Regions from separate parts of the Homo sapiens genome. Here regions 1 and 2 are each linked to region 3. The links are contacts of gene promoters, found by promoter capture Hi-C in human tissues and cell types (Jung and others, 2019). All regions are on one chromosome and are shown on one strand. Each heading gives the region's core, a stretch centred on a gene start or on the middle of the fragment in contact. The rest is flanking DNA. Distances are from core to core; before and after follow the strand shown. Region 1 has its middle 23 kb from the start of CDKN1B. Region 2 has its middle 7.0 kb from the start of APOLD1. Region 3 holds the start of ETV6 (ETS variant transcription factor 6).

The links. Contacts are between HindIII fragments. The study calls those that stand out against the background at their distance.
Region 1: a contact is called between a fragment that was not itself captured here and the fragment with the promoter of ETV6 in region 3, in 1 of the 25 tissues and cell types used here (liver).
Region 2: a fragment that was not itself captured here is called in contact with the fragment with the promoter of ETV6 in region 3 in 1 of the 25 tissues and cell types used here (sigmoid colon).

Annotation. Positions count from the first base shown.
Region 1 is chr12:12,738,415-12,741,744 of GRCh38, reverse strand. It overlaps a transcript of APOLD1 not described here. Among named protein-coding and RNA genes, the nearest start is that of CDKN1B, 23 kb to the right of the region's middle. The HindIII fragment of the contact is 3,194 bases long and covers 338-3,330 here.
Region 2 is chr12:12,777,078-12,780,214 of GRCh38, reverse strand. It overlaps a transcript of APOLD1 not described here. Among named protein-coding and RNA genes, the nearest start is that of APOLD1, 7.0 kb to the left of the region's middle. The HindIII fragment of the contact is 8,085 bases long and covers 1-3,137 here.
Region 3 is chr12:11,647,550-11,650,935 of GRCh38, reverse strand. ETV6 (ETS variant transcription factor 6) reads right to left here and starts at 1,262. Exons shown (of 8, transcript NM_001987.5): 1 at 776-1,262. The coding sequence starts at 808. RefSeq lists silencers at 910-1,069, 1,080-1,129, 1,340-1,549, 1,840-2,079 and an enhancer at 2,260-2,359. The HindIII fragment of the contact is 9,953 bases long and covers 1-3,386 here.

The DNA of each region.
Region 1 (3,330 bases), core at 685-3,184, 1.1 Mb before region 3:
CTCCACAAATGTTAGCTATTGTTATTATATAACTGTACAGAGAGAACATCTCTCTGCGTATCAGACTGTGTGTCTTGTTTTGTTTTGTTTTTCTTGTGTGCAGACTGTAGCAAAATGCAACCCAGGAACTTCAGGGAGCTATAACTCAAAACCTAAAATTGGGAATCATTTTTTATACTTTTTCACACTATAAACTGTAGACAATCCACGTTGCAATAAAAACTGGGTTGGGGCCGGGCACAATGGCTCATGCCTGTAATTCAGCACTTTGGGAGGCTGAGGCAGGAGTACTGCTTGAGGTCAGGAGTTCAAGACCAGCCTAGACAACATAACAATACCTTGTCTCTACAAAAAAAGAAAAATGTTCTAAATTAGCTGGGTGTGGTGGCACATGCCTGTAGCCTCAGCTACTCAGGAGGCTGAAATGGGAGGATCACTTGAGCCCAGGAGTTTGAGACTGTAGTGACCTATGATGGTGCCACTGCCCTCCAGCCAGGGCGACAGAGCAAGACCCTATCTCTAAAATGTTTCAAGTTCGTAAAAAAAGTATGACAGTTTGCAACAGATAGTCCAGGTTACAACCTGATGTTCAGTCTCTTGCATTCTAGGGTACTTTTTCCAAATGGGGAGGGAAAGGTAGGGAGATACAATTTTTTTTTTCTTGGTAAGAGGTACAAAAAAGTTACAAAAGGTACAAGGACTTTGAGAGACATAATTAATGGGTTTGTTTTTTTCCCAGGTAACCTCTGCTAAATTCCTGTTTCATCATGGCTATTTAAATACATGGTTATTGAGTAATTGGCATTCTGATTTCCAGGTAATACTGAATAGCCTCCTGCCTCAGCCTCCCAAAGTGCTGGGATTACAGGCGTGAGCCACCGTGCCCAGCCGCAACTCAATTTTAATAGTAATATATGGATTGTCTCCAGTCTGTAGTGGGAAAATTATAAAAAAAGATTCCAAATATTACGTTTTGAGGCAAAACCTAGTAAGAATTTTCAGGTAATACTGGGCACATTCCTTTCCATGTGTAGAGGGAAGGCTGAAAGTCACTGCCTGGAGGGACCTTGAAATTTGTCATTGCATTAAGGCTTATAATTATCTGTCCAACCAGGTTTGAAAGGAACTTTAGAATTGCCAACCCATTTTTAGGGAAACAGAGAGATTGGGATATTAGGTTCACCTAGTTCAGAAGACAGTCAACTACTGGGGTTCAGATTTCCTAAAGGTTAGGACAATGCAGAAAAGGAAGGTAAAAATGTTGAATGGGGCAGCTGGGACCTCAGGGCTGAAGCAAAGTAGGGTGTCCATAGAAAATAAGATCTGAGGGCCGGGTACAGTGGCTCATGCCTGTAATCCCAGCACCTTGGGAGGCCAAGGCCAGCAGATCACCTGAGGTCAGGAGTTCAAGACCAGCCTGGCCAATATGGTGAAACCCCGTCTCTGCTAAAAATACAAAAATTAGGCTGGGTGTGGTGGCTCACACCTGTAATCCCAGCACTTTGGGAGGCTGAGGCAGGCGGATCACGAGGTCAGGAGATCAAGACCATCCTGGCTAACACGGTGAAACCCCATCTCTACTAAACATACAAAAAATTAGCCAGGCGTAGTGGCACGCACCTGTAGTCCCAACTACTCAGGAGGCTGATGCAGGAGAATCGCTTGAACCTGGGAGGCAGAGGTTGCAGTGACCTGAGATCACACCACTGTACTCTGGCCTGGGCAACAGAGTGAGTCTCCATCCCAAAAAAAAAAAAAAAATTAGCCGGATGTGGCAGTGCACACCTGTAGTCCCAGCTACACAGGAGGCTGAGGCTGGAGAACTGCTTGAACCTGGGAGGCAGAGGTTACAGTAAGCCAAGATAGCACCACTGCACTCCAGCCTAGGTGACAGAGTGAGACTCTGTCTCAAAAAAAAAAAAAAAAAAGTAGGATCTGGTAGGATCTGAGAAATATACTCCTTAATGAAAGATGAAACATAAAGTACCCAAGCTTATAATATTCAGTTATGGCTATAGGATCATATTTTTAAGACCCATGTAATTAAAGGTATAAAATTACCTGCCCAACCTAAAATGAAAAGTTCACTAGGAAAAAAATAGCCATTACTCAATGTGATTATATGAACATTAAAGTTAATAAAAAAGGTTTTTCTCCTTTTAGAAATTTTAGCATATGAAATTATCTTTACTCTGCAAGTCACTCTGAGATATATTTTTTAAATATTGTTTACAGTTGCTATCCAGTAAAGGATACATTTCAAATGTATCTTGATTAGACAATCACCTGTAACAAACATTCCTTTCCTTGAAAATGCTTGCAGGAGTTCAGAAAACATAGTAACTTCACTTCACTGTAACACTGATACTCTTTCCCGTTCCAGCTTTTGCCTGCTTCTTTTTAAAGCACAAAGAACACTCATCTTCTCGATCTCCCTGGCTTTCAGGCCACTTGACGATAGCAGAATACAAATTCCTCAATAACCACATATTTAAATAACCACGGTAAAAATAGGAGTTTAGCAGAGGTGTCCTGGGAAAAAGAAACAAAATTCAGTGACCTGTGCAAGATGTGTATTCTCCGCATTCAGTCTCCCCTACTATCTGTCCCCACCTACCAAGCCAACTTTATCTCTTAGGATTCTCCAGAACACCCCCCTCCCCAAATCTGTCCCTTGCAGAGCCACCAGTTTTACAGTCAGTTCCTTGCTCAAAAATCCTCAAGGACTTCTGTATCTGTTAAGATTTGCATTTGGCAGCTAGTAACAGAGCCCAGAAATCATAGTGGCTTAAACAAGATAAAAGTGTACTTTTCTTTTCTGTACAGGAATTCTGGAGATAAGTGGCACAGAGTTGGTGTGGCATCGCCTATAGTTCCTGTATCTTTCTACTCCACAATGCACCTTCTATCCTCAGGAACAAAGGATGCCTCCTCAAATTGCAGCCATCTTACACACCTCATAGGCAGCCAAAAGGGGACAGACAGGCAGATGTCAAACTTCTTTTCAAATGCTGTCAGAACCTAGCACAGTCCAGCATACTTCATAAGCACTCATTAAATTTCAGATACAAGAATCAATTAATTCTATGGCACTACTGAAGTAGGGAAATTTATCATTCACAAAACTTTAAATATCAACAGTATACCCAGTGCACCATATTAGAAACTATAAAGCATCATTTGAAATTCTTAAAAGGACACCGTTTTAAGATAGTAGATATGTAAATATCTATGTAATTAACCAGGCACAGTGGTTCATGCTTCTCATCCCAATGATTTGGGAGGCTAAGTTGGGAGGACTGCTTGAGCAAAGGAGTTCAAGACCAGCCA
Region 2 (3,137 bases), core at 179-2,678, 1.1 Mb before region 3:
TTTTTGCCCATGATTTCTTTGAATTTCCCCAGAATGTAAGTGCTCTAGAACATAGTCAAGCTCTCATAGTTGCTTGTTGAATTTAACTAAAGAAAAATGCTTTGTTCACTTAAAGAAATATCATTATTTTATAACAATTTTATAAGAATTTAACATAAAATTTTCTCTTGGACTATACAGCTTGGTATAACTTAGAATACTTATTCTGCAGAAGACCTCTAGGATATCTATATTGCATGGAATCTCAAGTATTATTGTCAAAAATTCATGGAACTGCACAGGAAAATAAAGACTCAACAAGTACTGCACTCCAGCCATTTTCATTCCTCCAAATTAGCCTCCAATCTTTGTTAATGTACACACACATCCTTAATCACTAGTGTTTAAACACTAGCCTGTGTTCTTTTTTCTACTTAACGTTCCTGCAGATAGATACACACTTGTCTATGTTGACATAGTCCTCACCTCTGTCATTTTTTAATAGCTATGTAATAATCCCATTGTTTGCTTAGTCATTTCCCTGTTAGACACTTGGATTGCTTCCAGGTTTTTCACTGTTATAACTAGAGTTGCCAGGACATCTGTGTACATTTTTTTTCCTTTGGATTATTTCTTTGAGGAGTATTCACAAACGGGAAAATACCAAGTCAAGGAGAATGACCATCTTCATCGTTTTTGTTATATAGTGCTATATTGCTTTCCAGAAGAACCCATTTATAATGCCACCAGCTTTTGTAAGAATAGAGGCAGAAGGCTTTCAGAATTTGCTTATATTAATGTTTAATTTGTTCGATTTCAGCTCCACTAATGTGTATTGAACACCTACTGTGTGCCAGACATCAGGCTAGAGTCTGGGGACCAAAAGCTAAATAAGATATAGTCCCTGCCCTCCAGGAGACGGCAAATCTATTGGAAGAGAAAAAGACAGAATATATCATTTAAATTTAAGGTGGGGAAGTGCCGGGGTGTGTGCTGGTACCAAGAAAGCACAGGGCAAATACATGCCCAGGAAGTACTAGGGAAGACTTTCTGGGAGCACTGATATTGAGCTGAATCTTGAGAGTCAAACAGAAGTTATTTGGACAAAAATTAGGAGAGAGAGGAGGGCAGTCTGGACAAAGGAACAGAATGGACAAAGGAATGGAGGAGTGTCCAGGGTGTTTAGTGTTGCTGAACATAAAGTGGGAAGCAGGGAAGGCCAAAGGATGAGGCTTAAGGGGTAGGTAGAAGACAAGTCATGACAGCTTTCCAGTGCCATGTGGGAAAGAGGGAGCCATTGAAGGCTTTCATCTGTGGCCTTACAAGGTTAATTTGACATTGTTGTGTGACAGTTGTGTGAAGGATGGTTCTCAGAGGTACACAACTAAAGCCAGGAGACAGTTAGAAGGTTATTGAAGTAGTTGACAGAGATTATCTCAGATTTGGCTAATGTTGGTAGGATGCAATGGAGTGGATAAAGTACAGAATATGTTTTGGAAGCAAAATTGACTAATCATTCCTAAGGCTGCTCAGACAGGGTAGCCATCACATCCACTGGCATTCTATTGGCCAATCAAGTTGTGGCCAACCCAACATTAAAGGGGTAGGAGCTAGGCACACTGGCTGGCTCCTGTAATCCCAGCACTTTGGGGGGCCGAGGCAGGAGGATTGCTTGAGCCCAGGAGTTTGAGATCAGCCTGGGCAACACAGTGAGAACCCATCTCTATAAAAAAAAAAAGAAATTAAAAATTAGCCACACGAGGAGGTGTGCACCTGTAGTTTCAGCTACTTGGGAGGCTGAGGTGGGAGGAGTGCTTGAGCCTAGGAGGGCGAGGCTGCAGTGAGCCATGGTCACACCATTGCACTCCAGCCTGGGCAACAGACTGAGACCCTGTCTCAAAAATGTAAAATAAAATAAGCAAAAAGATAGAGAGGTATATGCCTCCCACAGGGAGAAGCAAGCAGAAGAAATGTAAACCATCAGATCATTGTCAGGATGCTTTCCTGGCCAAGTACAGTGGCTCACACCTGTAATCCCAGCACTTTGGGAGTCCAAGGCTGGCGGACTGCTTGAGCTCAGTTTAAGACCAGCCTGGGGAACATGGCAAAACCTTGTCTCCACAAAAAAATAAAAAATAAAAAAAATAGCCAGGTGTGGTTGTGCACCCCTGTGGTCCCAGCTATTCAGGAGCCTGAGGTGGGAGGATCGCTTCAGCCCCAGGAGGCAGAGGTTGCAGTGAGCCGAGACTGCACCACTGCATTCCAGCCTGGGTGATAGAGTGAGACCCTGTCTCAAAAAACAACAACAACAAAAAAAAAAAAAAAAAAAAAAAAAAAAAAAAAAAACACCTTTCCTTGTAGAGAAGATATTTCCAGGTGAACTGTGACACCATCATCCACCTCCTATACCCTCTTCCTCTTCAGTTTGTTCTTTGGAATTGCCGTCTCCATCTGGATACACAGGTTGAGACGTTGAATTTCCCTAATGCAAAAATCTGAAATCTGAAATGCTGCAGTGAGCATTTCCTTTGAGCGTCACACTGGTGCTCAGTAAGTTTTGGATTTTAGAGTGATGCTCAAAGGAAATGCTCACTGGAACATTTCGGATTTCAGATTTTTTAATTAGGGATGCTCAATTGGTAAACATATAATGCAAATATTCTAAAATCCTGCCAAAATTGAAATCCAAATCACTTCTAGTCCCAAACCTTTTGGTTAAGGAATACTCAACTTGTAGTAAAAATCTCGCTCTGGCTAATATAAGCGAATTATTGCTATGAGACTGAGGGAACACATACTTGAACATGGGAAAGGACCATGGAGTTCTAAAGAACCAAGAAACTGAAAGGACATCAGTCGTTTTGTAATTGGAACAGCCTGTGTGATGAAACTGACCAACCACTCTTTCCTTTTGTCCTTGTATCAGTTTAAGAATCAAAGTTCCAGGAGTGACCACTGGGTTGGCTGAGCTTAGGTCAAGTGCCCATCTACTGTCTGCACTGGGCAGGGAGAAGAGGGGTGAATGGCCTTCAGCTTTCAAGTGGGAGATGGTAAAAGAACTTGACCTTCCCACCCACATTACATATATACTCAGGGAGAAGTTTCACACTAGGAAATTACAATGGGATTGCTATGTCAGGGAAAGGGAAACTGATGGT
Region 3 (3,386 bases), core at 13-2,512:
TTACAGAGTGCTGCTTAGATAGCCTCTCTGCACTGTCAAACACAGAAGGTCATTTTGCCTGGTTGCTTAGTTCTTCCTCTCCCTCCATCACAGGAGTTTTCTACTTTGGGATTGCTCAACTTTCATATGGATCGGAGTAAAATAACTATTCAGCAACTTTATTCACCTTGGTTTTAAAAAAAAATTCATTGTGCAATGCCTAGGAAAAGCTGACACCAGGACTGTCTCTCCGACAGCGCTTGCAATTACAATCAGACGAGGGGGAAAAAAATCCTGTCTGATCAGACCCAGAGAGTCCTTTAAAAAAATAAAAAGATTCTATCGCAGTGGAAACTGAACAACTTTTTTTCTAAGACGACCACCCCTCGGGAACAAAAGTTATATTTCAGTCACATGTTGGGTGTAGGAATAGGGAGCAGGTTTTTTTTTTTTGTTTTTTGTTTTTTTTTTTTTTAAGCGCACTAATTACGGGGGTGTTTTACGGTTCTGGAGACAATCCGGGTTGCTCTGACCAATTGTGACCGGCATTTCATTGTCAAAAAGCAAGGGGGTGGGGGCCGAGGAGCCGGCAGGGGCTCGGCGGTGGGGGGGAGTAGCAAGGTTACGCTAAAGGGTACAGCAGCCACCGCGAGCTGCATCTCTTTCCCTCTCGCCCCAAATAATTTCCTGCGAACAGAGCAACTGCAACAGCCTGCTCTGAGGAGCCCAGCACGACTGCCCTGGCCGGTGCAGCTCAGGGTTTCCACCACGTAGAAGGAGGGGAGAAGATTTTTACCTTAATGCTACACTGAGCAGGAGTCTCAGACATGTCTCACAGCGAGAGAGATCAGGAAGTTCTCAGGTTTTTTCCACTTTCCTTTCCTCTCCCCAACCCAGAAAGGCTCCACGGCCAGCCAGACGCGGTCATTTAAGAAGTTTCTTCCAGCATCTCTCCCGGCAGCCGCCCCGGGGGTCTGGAGCGCGCGGGGCGGGGCGGGGCGGCCGGCGGAGTTGGGCGCGCGGGGCGGCGGGGGCGTGGGAGACGGGCCCGAGCGCGGCGGCGGGGTCTGCAGGTCGCGGCGCGGCGCGGGGACCCGGGACGCAGCCCGGCCGGCCTCCCGGTCTCTCCTCCCACCCGCAGCCGGCGCCCCCGCCCCCCGCCCTCCCGCGGCTCTCCCTCGCTCTCTCGAATGTTTTCCTTCCTGGAAGAGAGAAACTGAAAGGCAGAACTGAGAAAGCTCTTTGCTCATTGATCTTGAGAGTTTCAGTGCAGAAACTGACGTGAATTCCCAGCACTGAGCTCTGCCTCTTAAAGGAGCCACCAGGAAATAAAAGCTCGGGTTACAGCCCGGCATCGGGGAAATAAAAGCTGCGCGGGGGAGGGGCGGCCGCGGGGGCGCGGGCGGAGGAAACCCGGGTAGCGGGGCCGCGTGGGGCCGCGGCTGCGAGCGGGGCGAGCGGCGCAGCCCCCCAGGCCGGCCCCCGGTGCGGGCGCCCGCCCTCCACGCCGCGAGACCTCCCGCTGGCCGAGCCAATTTCCGGGCTTAAGGAAGACACCTTTAAAAAACGTTACATTGTGGCCCCAGACACCACAAAACAGGTTTTATTAAACTCCTCCCACCTCCCCTGGCTCCGTCTCTTGGATACATCGATGTGCACAAGGGTTTTGAAACGTTTCACTAAGCGCAGATGCAACGAAAGTAATTATCTATGAAGGGCCATTCCGGTTAGGACGCGGAATCCGAAGGAGGAAATAAAACAATAGCCTTTGTTCTGCTTCTCGACCGCTGCCTCTTTAAGAGAATCCACCAGGAAATGGGAGATCGGGTTACAGCCTGCACACGGGGAAATGTGGGGAGAGCGGGCGCCCGAGCGCGACGCCGGAGACAAAGCCGGGGCGGCCGCGCCGCAGACGCTGGGGGACCGTCGGGCGGGGGGATTCCCGGGGAAGGTGGGCGCCCCGGAAAGAGGTGGCGCCACGCGCCCGCTCGGGGATGCGGCGGCCGCGGGCGCTTCCCGAGCCGAGCACGCGCTCCGGGAAGGGAAGGCTGCAGGGCAGTTATCAAAGGCAGCTGAGTTCCTTTTCCTGACCTCCCCCTCCTGTTTCGAAATCCACTGCCCTTTTAAAGAAATAGCGGCCGCTACCAACCGAAATAGGTGACTCGACTACAAAGTTGGCAGGACGTGTTCCTGCAGATAATACCCCTCCCCAGGACCGCTTCTCTGAAACCGTCATTGGCCGGTTGATTGGATGGCCCTGGGATCCTGCAGGGGGAGGAATATTTGGTTGGAAAAGCAGTTGAGGGGGGTTAAGGCCGTTGGGGCTGAAGGGTCTAGCCCTGAGCACAAGTGATCTGATCACTCTATTATTTTTATTATTATTTACACTCTCTTAAAGTGTCCACCACAAAAAACTGAGAACATTATCATTATACTTAAATTCTAACCTTGTTAGCACATATTGGGGGTTTAATATGTGGATGTGTAATGTAAAAGGAAATTTGTTATAATTTCTTAATAGAGTAATATATTAAATATGGTATAAATATGTATATACGCATATATACCCATATATGTTACCTGCACTGGACCAGGACACATTTCCCCGAGTCTCCCCACCCTACAGATTTTTCCTACCCACTTTCCTTCACCTCTTCACATTATCAAATGTGTTGAGACTTGTACACACAATATTTTTGTTCACACATTGATCAGATCATTACGAACGAGGCTAGGGTGGGAAAGAGTGCTGTTGCTGGGATGATGGGAACTGGTGGTTGTGAGCCTCCAGGAACCTGAACAGGTTTTGTCAACTGGTAGTCCTGCCCTCTCTCCAAGAGATCTCTGTCTTGTCCACACCGACTCCTCTGCCTTTGACCACCCCCTTCTCCCCTTTAACAATTTTCTGTATTCTTTTGCTTTTTTTTTTTTTTTTTTAAGACGGAGTCTGCTATGTCGCCCAGGCTGGAGTGCAGTGGTACGATATCGGCTCACTGGAAGCTCCGCCTCCCGGGTTCACGTCATTCTCCTGCTTCAGCCTCCCGAGTAGCTGGGACTACAGGTGCCCGCCACCGCGCCCGGCTAATCTTTTTTGTATTTTTAGTAGAGACGGGGTTTCACCGTGGTCTCAATCTCCTGACCTCGTGATCCACCCACTTCGGCCTCCCAAATTGCTGGGATTACAGGCGTGAGCCACCGCGCCCGGCCTCTTTTGCTTTTCTTAATTGATGTTGCAGACATTGGTTTAGATGTCCCATTGCTAGGTTATGTCTTCCACATCACTTAGCAATGTGATCCCTGACAACACAGTCACTAAGCTTCTGTAAAATGGGGAGAAATAGTACCTAGCTCATAAGATTATCTTATTAAATAAGAAAATATATACAAATGCCTCCTTAGCAGAGAGC